3 separate regions of the Homo sapiens genome follow, and regions 1 and 2 are each linked to region 3. Evidence: promoter capture Hi-C in 16 types of primary human blood cells and fetal thymus (Javierre and others, 2016). All regions are on one chromosome and are shown on one strand. The core of a region is centred on a gene start or on the middle of the fragment in contact, and the rest is flanking DNA. Distances in the headings are between cores, read along the strand shown. Region 1 overlaps TPD52L2 (TPD52 like 2). Region 2 holds the start of ZBTB46-AS1 (ZBTB46 antisense RNA 1). Region 3 holds the start of PTK6 (protein tyrosine kinase 6).

Evidence for each region. Contacts are between HindIII fragments. The CHiCAGO score rates a contact against its expected background, and 5 or more counts as called.
Region 1: a contact is called between a fragment that was not itself captured here and the fragment with the promoter of PTK6 in region 3, in 2 of 17 cell types (monocytes and naive B cells). The highest score is 6.3, in monocytes.
Region 2: the fragment with the promoter of ZBTB46-AS1 here is called in contact with the fragment with the promoter of PTK6 in region 3 in 11 of 17 cell types (megakaryocytes, naive CD8 T cells, neutrophils and 8 more); the score reaches 7.5 in megakaryocytes.

Annotation. Positions count from the first base shown.
Region 1 is chr20:63,884,879-63,888,124 of GRCh38, forward strand. All of the region lies in intron 5 of TPD52L2 (TPD52 like 2), which reads left to right. Among named protein-coding and RNA genes, the nearest start is that of DNAJC5, 8.6 kb to the right of the region's middle. RefSeq lists a silencer at 1,354-1,524. The HindIII fragment of the contact is 6,643 bases long and covers 1-3,246 here.
Region 2 is chr20:63,805,934-63,809,459 of GRCh38, forward strand. It overlaps ZBTB46-AS1 (ZBTB46 antisense RNA 1), which reads left to right and starts at 2,143. Exons shown (of 3, transcript NR_110081.1): 1 at 2,143-2,222. The region is part of intron 1 of ZBTB46 (zinc finger and BTB domain containing 46); the gene reads right to left. The HindIII fragment of the contact is 29,160 bases long and covers 1-3,526 here.
Region 3 is chr20:63,535,709-63,539,456 of GRCh38, forward strand. PTK6 (protein tyrosine kinase 6) reads right to left here and starts at 1,668. Exons shown (of 8, transcript NM_005975.4): 1 at 1,377-1,668. The coding sequence starts at 1,606. It overlaps SRMS (src-related kinase lacking C-terminal regulatory tyrosine and N-terminal myristylation sites), which reads right to left. Exons shown (of 8, transcript NM_080823.4): 8 at 2,781-3,748. RefSeq lists an enhancer at 1,767-1,856 and silencers at 1,977-2,126, 2,457-2,726. The HindIII fragment of the contact is 2,955 bases long and covers 981-3,748 here.

The DNA of each region.
Region 1 (3,246 bases), core at 306-2,805, 350 kb after region 3:
TCCTGTTTGCTGGTGTGTCTTGCCCTGCTTGCTCCTCCATTTATGTTTGTAGTGGTGGTGGGAACTCTGACGTCTGGAGCCCCTGGTGTATCCCCATCATCTCCCCAAGCAGTCACAGGTGGTTTCTGAGGTCTGGGCCCATTCACCTCGAGTTAGAGACTGAGGTTGAGAGCTCACTACTTCCTGAAAGTGAAAATTGGGTTCTGGGAGGTTTATGTCATGAGTTTAGGGCTGGATGAACCCCGGCGGACCCCTGCTAACTCTTGGGCGGAAGCCCCTCTGGACAGCTGCCCAACGCCCGTGTCCATGATGGGCCTGTCCCAGGGCAGCCCCGGTCTGTGAGGCCTTTGGTGTGCCCTGGGGCATGGGTGATGGGGATGGGAGGAAGGGAACTGGATTCAGGTCAGAGTGGGGGTTTACAGCAGGGTCAGGTCACCGTCTGACTCCGTGGTCTCAGATGAGGCATCGGCCCTCTCAGGACCTCGGGCGAGTTGAGTGTTTCTCAGTTCTTCAGTGGCTCCCTCCATGTCAGAGTGGGCCTGGCTGCAGTGAGTGGCAGCAGCTGCCCTTGGACACACAGGTTTCCAGGTTGGCGTCTGTGGGCACGGATGGAGCGCAGAGCAGAAATGCTCGGCGCCAAGGGTGTCCCACATCCTCCCACGGTGCGTGTGCTCCCTCAGCTGACGTGATTTGGGGAACACGGGCCGCTCTCGTTCTGTGGAGCTGGCCAAGCCCAGCTGTCATGCTGTGGCACATTTCACACCTTTGCGCTGCTGGATGGGGCTGGTTGTGCTCCAGGTGCTGTGGCTTCTCCAAACAGGTGTGCCTTGGGGCATAAGGCGTGGACAGGGCGTGGACCCAGGGGCCTCTTGGGCACAGCCGTGAGGCTGAGCAGTTGCTAGTCATGATCTTGCGAGAGCCTCCTGTTGAGTCAGGACTTGAGGAGACTGGAGACAGTGCTGCTGTCCCCGGTGGTGTGCGGACTGGAGGAGCCGTCCTGGAGGGTCTTCCCCTGCTGGGCCTGACTGAGCACGAGCAGGGGGCCTCCCCTGGGGCTCCCCGAGGAGGGCTGTGAGTGGGTGCTGGCCTCCCTTGCTTACACTTCGTTTCCTCTTCTCTCCTGCTGCCACCTTCCAGGGCTCATCCATTTTCACACTCCTTTAGGTAAGGCTGAGCCTGGACACACCTGTGGAAGACTTTTCTCTGAATTGGGGCAGGGTGGACTCCGGCAGGGCCCTTGGGCGGCTGTGCTAGTAGAGGGCAGTGAAAGTGGGATCACCCCTTCCAGGACAGCAGTGCCAGCCAGGTGGTTGCTGCATCTCAGGGAACAAAGCAGCAGCGTGGGATCGACGCAGAGGCCCCCCGGAACCCCCCGGCCCTTCTGTGTCCCCTCCTCGTGCTTCCCTTCAGGCTCACAGACCGCCTGCTGCCGGGTCTGTGAATAACTGGCCTGGCGTCCAGGCCTGAGTTTACTCCTGAAAAGGAGCTTTTTTTTTTTTTTAGACGGAGTCTTGCTCTGTCGCCCAGGTTGGAGTGCCGTGGCGCGATCTCGGCTCACTGCAAGCTCCGCCTCCCGGGTTCACGCCATTCTCCTGCCTCAGCCTCTCCGAGTAGCTGGGACTACAGGCGCCCGCCGCCACGCCCGGCTAATTTTTTGTATTTTTAGTAGAGACGGGGTTTCACCGTGGTCTCGATCTCCCGACCTCGTGATCCGCCCGCCTCGGCCTCCCAAAGTGCTGGGATTACAAGCGTGAGCCACCGCGCCCGGCCTTTTTTTTCTTTTTTTTGTTGGAGTCTCGCTCTATCACCAGGCTGGAGCACAGTGGTGTGATCTCGGCTCACTGCAACCTCCAGCTCCCTGGTTCAAGCGGTTCTCCTGCCTCAGGCTCCTGAGTAGCTGGGATTACAGGCATGAGCCACCACGCCTGGCTAATTTTTGTATTTTTAGTAGAGACGGGGTTTCACCATGTTGGCCAGCATGGTCTCGATCTCCTGACCTCGTGATCCACCCGCCTTGGCCTCCCAAAGTGCTGGGATTACAGGCGTGAGCCACTGCGCCGGGCCCTCAAAGGAGCCTTTTCACGTGGGAGGGCTGTGCCGACTCTCACCACCTTCCTGTTCAACATCTGTCCTGTTTCCTTGTTTTCCTTCAGATGGAGTTTTGTCTTGTTTACTACCCGAGAGCCCATAGGTGTGCCTCCCAAAGGGCCCTCCTGCAGACCAGAGCAAGCTCCTCTAGGCCAAGCCGGGGCGCCGCCAGCACGTGCCCTTCTGCTGGAACCGGGAGGTCTAGAGCCAGGCCCAGAACAATCTGTGATTTCTTGTGTTTTTACTTGACTTGGTGGTTTCTCTTTTGCCAAAAGGTCCTTACTTGACTTCTGAAGGCTGTTTGTACCAAATACTTTTCAAAAGCCCAAGCCTGGTCTCCTCACAGCTTCCTATGGCAGTGCTCTCCCCCCTCCCAGTGCTATGCGCTGGGCAACTTGGGGTGCCCCCCATGAGGCCAAGGGAGGACCCTGGGGTCGAGTTTCCTTCGGGGGCATTGTGTGGAGGGGCAGGCAGCTCGCTCCAACTGCTGGGAGTGGGGGAATCCCAGCTCTGCCCATCCCTGCCAAGTTGGGGTTGTGTGTGGATCTTGGTGTTAACTCTTGCTTCCTTCTCTGCTTCTGCCATGCTTCCAAGCAGCAGCTACTCCATCCGCCACTCAATAAGTATGCCAGCCATGAGGTAATGTATGCCTGCTCGCTGCGGCTCCAGAGCCGGGTGTCTCTGGTGGGGGTTGGGGCAGCTCCCGCCGGTTACACCTTGCCCTTCCCATATTCCTGGATTAATTGAGGACTCCATTCCCTTGGCAACCTCTGATGACTAAGGGCCGGTAAAAACCCCCTCTAGGCTGACGAGGAAGAGCTGGTAGGGGGTCAGGCTCTTCACCTGCAGCCTCCAGAGGAGATCCTTGTGTCAAACTGGGCCGTGTCCTTTCCAAGTCCTGACCCTGGCTGCCTGCAGTGGGTGGGGTGGGGTTCGAGGGGCTCGCACACAGATCCTGGCACTTGCCCTGGTGGGCTGTCACTCAGGACACTTCACGGTCTCAGCCTTCACGGAAACACCCAGAGCTGTGGTCCTTATTCTGTGCCTGTCAGGCACCACCCTGATTCTCAGGATTCTGTGCCTGTGCCGTGAGGCACTGCCCTGATTCTCAGGAGAGCCCAGAACTGTGGTCCCTATTCTGTGCCTGCGCCGTCAGGC
Region 2 (3,526 bases), core at 893-3,392, 270 kb after region 3:
GGATAATTTTTTTGTATTTTTAGTACAGACAGGGTTTCACCATGTTGGCCAGGTTGGTCTCGAACTCCTGACCTCAGGTGCTCTACCCGCCTCCGCCTCCCAAAGTGCTGGGATTACACGCATGAGCCACCATGCCCGGCCCCAACTTTTAAAAATATTATAATTTTCTCAGAAAGCTAATCAGCTGGCTGGGAAAGGTGGCTCACGCCTGTAATCCCAGCATTTTGGGAGGCTGAGACGAGCGGATCACCTGAGGTCAGGAGTTCGAGACCAACCTGGCCAACATAGTGAAACCCCGTCTCTACTAAAAGTTAAAAAAAAAAATTAGCCTGGCATGGTGACGGGTGCCTGTAATCCCAGCTACTCGGGAGGCTGATGCAGGAAAATTGCTTGAACCCGAGAGGCAGAGGTTGCAGTGAGCCGAGAACATATCACTGCACTCCAGCCCAGGCAACAACAGTGAAACTCCATCTCAAAAAAAAAAAAAAAAGAAAGAAAAGAAAGCTAATCAGCTTAACAAGGCAAGAAAACTATTTGTGTACATTTTAAATCTGAGATACTGCTATGGCTAACTCTGACCTGAAATGGTAACTTCAAAAAAAATAGAACCTAAATAAGAAGGTTGTAATACCTGCTTAAAATAAAGGCAACACTATGCTCTCAAGGAATATGATGGAATCTTTCTCTTTTTTTGAGATGGAATCTGGCTCTGTCACCCAGGCTGGAGTGCAACGGTGCGACCTTGGCTCACTAAAACCTCCACCTCCCACGTTCAAGCGATTCTCCTGCCTCAGCCTCCCATGTAGCTGGGACTACAGGCGCCCACCACCACGCCCAGCTAATTGTTTTGTTTTGGTTTTTTTTTTTGAGATGGAGTCTCGCTCTGTCGGCCAGGATGGAGTGCAGTGGCGCCATCTCGGCTCACTGCAAGCTCCGCCTCCCAGGTTCACGCCATTCTCCTGCCTCAGCCTCCTGAGTAGCTGGGACTACCAGCGCCCGCCACCACACCCGGCTAATTTTTTGTATTTTTAGTAGAGACGGGGTTTCACCGTGTTAGCCAGGATAGTCGCGATCTCCTGACCTCATGATGCACCTGCCTCGGCCTCCCAAAGTGCTGGGATTACAGGCGTGAGCCACCACGCCTGGCCAGGATTGGTGTTAATTCTTAAAATGTTTGATAGAATTCAACAGTGAAGTGATATATACAATCATATACATATATAGAGAGAGACAGAGATGGACTTTTCTTTTGTTGGAAGTTTATTGACTATTGATTCAATTTCTTTATTGAAATTGACTTTTCTTTTTGGAAGCTAAAAAGTACAATAACTGTAGTGAAAGTTTCTGAACTTTTCTTTCATTGGAAGTTTTTTGACTACTGATTCTTTATTTGTTATAGGTCTATTCAGATTTTCTGTTTCTTCTTGAGTCAGTTTGGTCTCGCTCTGTCACCCAGGCTGGAGTGCAGTGGCGCCATCTTGGCTCACTGCAACTTCTACCTCCCGAGTTCGAGTGATTCTCCCACCTCAGCCTCCCCAGTATCTCGGACTACAGGCGCACGCCAGCATACCTGGCTAATTTTTGCATTTTTAGTAGGAACGGGGTTTCACCATGTTGGCCAGGCTGGTCTCGAACTCCTGGCCTCAAGCAATCTGCCCGCCTCGGCCTCCCAAAGTGTTGGGACTACAGGTGTGAGCCACCGCGCCCGGCCTTCAGCTACTCCATTTTTTAACATTTTGCCGCATTTGTTTACATCAAGCAATATGATAGAATCCCTAACCAGTTACTTTTTGCTTAAAAGCTGTACTAGGCCAAAACAAGCGAAGCACCCGTCTGTGTGAGGCAGCGGGTCTGGCTTACAGGCGGCGCCTCAGGGCTCGCTCCCCCTCCGAGCGGGTCTCACTCCCAGAGCGGGGCTCGCCCGGTGTCTGGCCTCCGAGGCCGTGTGCCCAAGTCCCCACCTTGTGCGGCACAGGCCCTTCCCACAGGGGACACTCACGGAAGCTGAACGGACCTTCCCACAGGAGACACTCACGGAAGCTGAACGGACCTTCCCACAGGGGACACTCACGGAAGCTGAACGGACCTTCCCACAGGGGACACTCACGGAAGCTGAACGGACCTTCCCACAGGGGACACTCACGGAAGCTGAACGGACCGACGGAGGTGGCGTGGATGAGCAGCAGCCGCCTGAGCAGTGAGGAAACCCCGCGGACAGCGCGGTAAGGACCCCACCCAGATTACTGGATTTCACCACCGGCCGCCTTCGATGGAGGAGTCCTCAGTCTCCACATCCGCACGGCACAGACGGAGGGGGGGCCCATGGGGCCCCAGCGATGAACCTGTCAGGGGTCCCCTGTACCCTGTAGGCCAGTCAAGCCATCCTTCCCAGCCCTTGCCCCGGGGGCTGAGCGCAGGGGAGGGCCCGGAAGGCAGACGCCACGGAGCCCGGGGCTTCAGGGGGGCGTGGGGCGGAAGCGGGGCCAGGGCGGAGGTCACGGACAGGGTCATCCGGACCCACAAGGAGTCTCAGCCCCGGGCCCGGCGGGAGGGAAGGGGGAAGCCAGGCTCTTCCTCCTAGGGCAGGGCCTGGGCTCCGGGGCAGTGTGACCTCCCGCCCCTAAGCGAGTCCTGCCTCCCCATGAGACCTGAGCTCCTCCAGCGTGGGTGGGAGGCGGACAGAGCCTCCCCCAGAGAAGGCCCTCCTCGGTCCAGCGCTCGGCCAGGACAGGCGCCAAGGCCGCCTTAAGAAATAAAACCAGCAGGCGCGGTGGCTCACGCCTGTAATCCCAGCACTTTGGGAGGCCGAGGCGGGCGGATGGTGAGGTCAGGAGATCAAGACCATCCTGGCTAACATGGTGAAACCCCGTCTCTACTAAAAAATACAAAAAAAAATTAGCCGGGCGTGGTGGGGGCGCCTGCAGTCCCAGCTACTCGGGAGGCTGAGGCAGGAGAATGGCGGGAACCCGGGGGGCGGAGCTTGCGGTGAGCCGAGATGGCGCCACTGCACTCCAGCCTGGGCGGCAGAGCGAGACTCCGCTTCAAAAAAAAAAAAAAAAAAAAAAAGAAAAAGAAAAAAAAAAAAGAAAGAAAACTCCATGATTCATGAGGTAAGACCTGGGAGCTGGCGGCTCGGTGCTCCGGTGCTGCAGAGGCACTCAAGGGGCTCTCCACGTTCGCCTTCCACGTTCCCCTTCGCAGGGACCGCAGCGCCTGGGGCACTTCGCCATGGGCTTGGCCGAAGTGGGCACTAAAGGTGCAGACTCGGTGGAGCCAAGGGGGGCAAGGTCAGCAGCCCTGGGGGCGCAGCCCTGGGGGCCCCGCCGTGGGCCACGCCCAGCGCGTCCAGTCCTCATGGCCGCGTCTATTCCAGGAATGGGGTCCTGGGGTTCGGCACAGGCCTGCTGGGGTGGTGGCCCCACATCTTGCCTGTGTCCCCCCATATTATGCCCAAGGGAGCAACAAAGGCCACCCCTGGGTCCAGGCCTCAGGAGCTCACAGGAGCCCTGAGCCCAGAAGACAGCAG
Region 3 (3,748 bases), core at 418-2,917:
CTTCCGCACACCTGGAAGCACTGCCCCACCTGCCCCTCCAACCACCTGGCCTCCCGCCCCCCCCCTCACCTGGCCTCCCGCCCCCTCCTCACCTGGCCTCCCGCCCCCTCCTCACCTGGCCTCCCGCCCCCCCCCTCACCTGGCCTCCCGCCCCCTCCTCACCTGGCCTCCCGCCCCCTCCTCACCTGGCCTCCCGCCCCCCCCTCACCTGGCCTCCCACCCCGTCCTCACCTGGCCTCCCGCACCCCCCTCACCTGGCCTCCCGCCCCCCCCTCACCTGGCCTCCCGCCCCCTCCTCACCTGGCCTCCCGCCCCCTCCTCTCCTGGCCTCCCGCCCCCTCCTCTCCTGGCCTCCCGTCCCCTCCTCTCCTGGTCTCCCGCCCCCCCCACCTGGCCTCCCGCCCCCCCTCACCTGGCCTCCAGCCCCCCCCACCTAGCCTCCCGCTCCCCCCCCCACCTGGCCTCCCACCCCCTCCTCACCTGGCCTCCTCCCCACTTCTCACCTGGGCGAGTTCTCAGGACTCAGGGTCTTTGCACCTGGGAGCTGACCAGCCTCCGGCCAGACCCCACCCCTGCACCCCTGCTCACTAACGAGGTCGTGGGTCTGCGCGTGACCCTGCTAACGAGGTCGTGGGTCTGCACGTAATAGAGGGGTCTCCACCATGGGCCCCTGCCCGACGGCCTCTTTACAGCCTCCCCTGCTTGTTGCTTGGGTCCCCCGGGAGCTAACCCTACACAGCCTGTGACTCACGCACACACACAGTGGGTGCCCAATCACTGATGAGAAACGCGGGATCTCAGGAGCGTGACCCTCCTCAGCCTGAGCTCCGGGCAGCTGTGGAAGCCAGGGCCAGGCCACACCAGCTGCTGTCTGGTTCCCCGCAGGGCACAGCAGGCAGGAAGTTTGCCCGGCAGCCGGCCCGCTCCCCTAACTAGGTCGTGTGTCTGGTTCCGGCACTTTGGAAACTGGGCAAGCTTCAAGCTTCGTTTCCCCCAAAGGCCCTGGAACGCTCCGACAGACCTTGTCACTGGCCACCGGGCCCCAGAAGTCCACCCTGGACCCTCTGTCCTCCCTGGGTCCCGGCAATGCAGCGTCCACCCCCGAGCTGTGACAAGGATGAGCCCAAGGCAGGGGCCGTGCCCTCTGACCCCCGTGCTCCAACTCCCGCAGGGACAGTCCTGGGCACTCCTGGGCGCCAGCGCATGGGGCCTGCAGGGAGGATCAAGCGGGATGCCCAGCCTGGACTTTGGGGTGCAGGAAGATGGAACCGGGGTCCCCACCTTCTTGGGCCTCCCTGAGCAGCCCAGAGCCCTGTCCCTCCCCTGTGCCTAGAGGGTGGCCTGTGCCAAAGCTCCCAGCAGCCTAGGACACGCACGGTTCCGACTCCACCGTCTCCCTCTCGGCCAGGTAGTTGTGGGGCACATAGCCCTGGGCCACGGCCCCACCCGCCTCGTCCAGCAGCGTGGCCCACCACCACTGCTCCTCCTTCCTGGCCACGTGGAAGACGTCCCCCGCGCGGAAGCTCAGCTCCTCGTCCGTCCGGGACTTGAAGTCCCAGAGGCCCACATACTTGGGGCCCAGGTGAGCCTGGTCCCGGGACACCATGGCGGGCGGGCGCAGCGGCAGGACCAGGCTGTGGCCCAGCTGGAGCACCCAGAGCTGGGCGTGGCAGGCGGGCCGTCCCACTTCCTCATGACAGGCCGGGAAGCAGCCACACCCAGCACCCACAGGCGCTCCAGAGCACCCCGGCTCCTCCTGAGGGCCCAGCCGGCCCCACAAGTCCTCAGGCCCACTGGGGCCCATCTGAGCACTTAGCGCCCGCACTATGGGAACCCACTGGGCAAGCACCGCCAGGGCCGGCCTGAGCGCAGGAGAGGGGGAGGAGGACCTCCCGGTTGGGGCTTCTTGGGGGTCCAACTTATGGACACTCAGGCACTCAGGGAAGCCAACGGCCCTCTGGGAACAAGCCTCGCAGCCTGAGGGCAGGAAGGTGAGGGCTGCAGGCGCTGCCTTCCCAACCCTCAGAGCTGCGGGGGCACAGGTGGGGGCCGCCTCTCTCCCCGCTTCCGGCAGCTTCCCCTCCACCCGTCGGTGCCCTCACCCAGCCCCAGACTCCACCCCTGAGCACAGGGCCCAATGTCAGGAGCTGCTGTGGGCAGGCGTCCTGAGAGCGGCCTCATGGGCAGGCCCGCCCTCGGGTAAGGGCCAAGCAGGGAAGAGGGAGTGGAATCAGGGCAGCGACAGCTGTGTGGGTCGGCCCGGAGGACTTCCCGGAAGAGGAGGGCCCGAGGGTTTTGGGGGATCCCCGGGGAGGCAGAGCCAGGGGCACCCACGGCTGAAGAAACGGGCACTGCCTTCCTCCACACGGACGCCAGGGGGCAGGCAAGGACCGTGAGTGCGGCCTGGAAGCGCCCATGGCGCTGGGGCCCAAGGCCACAGGTCCCTCCCAGGCAGCCCCTCCCGCCTCCAGCCTCTGCCTCCTCCTGTCCAGCCCGCAGGACCCCTGCCCCCTTCCAGCTGGCCTCCCTTCTCCCGACTCATGCCTGAGTGAGCCCTGCCGTGACCCCCACCTGCACCCGACGGCCGCCTGCCCCCCAGCCCCTGAGACTCGGGACACCCCCTCCCTGGAGGCCCCTCCCCGCCCCACCCTCCCACTGACCCTACTGTGTCCACCCGGGAGCTCCAACCCAGGGACCTGGACTGGCAGCCACAAGGGGGCAGGAAGGGGCGGGAAGGGAAATTCAAAGTCTGCAAGGGGTGGTAAGGAAAGTCCCTAAACTGCGTATTTCAACTTTTATTTTTATTGCAAAGAGAAATAATGGCACCTTCCACTCATTGTTTTGAGATTAAGAACAATAATCTGGATTATTTAACAGGCTCATAGATTTCTGGGCAGCCCAGCTCAGCGCTGACCAAGGTGGGGAGGGGCAGCGGGGTGCCGGCCTGGGCAGTGTCCCTCAGGCCCTCCCAGCTCTGTCTGGGGTCGGTTGGGGAGGATGCAGGGGGAGGGGTGGGGGGTGGGGAATGCGGAAGGAGGGTGCCGGGGCACCTGGCCGGGCAGCGTCCCTCAGAGCCCGGCCAGACTCTGGGCCCGTGAGTCTATGTCCAGGAAGCCTCGAGTATCCCTGAGTTCGGACGTGCAGGACTTTCAGTCTAAGCCACACCAGGAGGCAGGAACGTCCCCAGCCCCTCCCAGATACCCAGGAGCACCAAACCTGTTCAGCTGGTGGCTGGCGAGATGCCTAGGAGGGCACAGGTGCCACAGACACACCTGGTCCCCTTAATCCCAGTGGCGGCTGCAGAGAGCACAGAGGGCGAGGCCTTCTGTGCCAGAGGAGCCCCCAGGCTGCTGTGCTGGGGACCTGCCAGAACTGGAAGCTCAGCTCAAGGCCTCAGTGGGCCCAGGTACCAGAACCAGCCCCTCCCCTAGGTTCTCCCATGCAGATGGAGCTGGGCAGGTGGCCAGGGTCCCAAAGGCTCAGATAAAGCCTCTTGCCTCCACCATCTGCAGGGGTCCTGGTTCCTGCTGCTTCCCTCCGCTTGGCCTTGTTCCTCCGATGCACGGGCCCCAGGAAGCCCCCGCGCTGCCTCCGTTCTCGGAGCCTCCGAGTGGCCTCTTCCTTCCCCGGGGCCACCTGTCTCTGCACACGGGAGTCTCATCTCTTAGCTCCCTCCTGAGCCAGGCTTTGGCCGGGGCCTGTGGACGGCAGCCATCAGCACTTCGGCTCAGCAGGTACAGAGCTGACC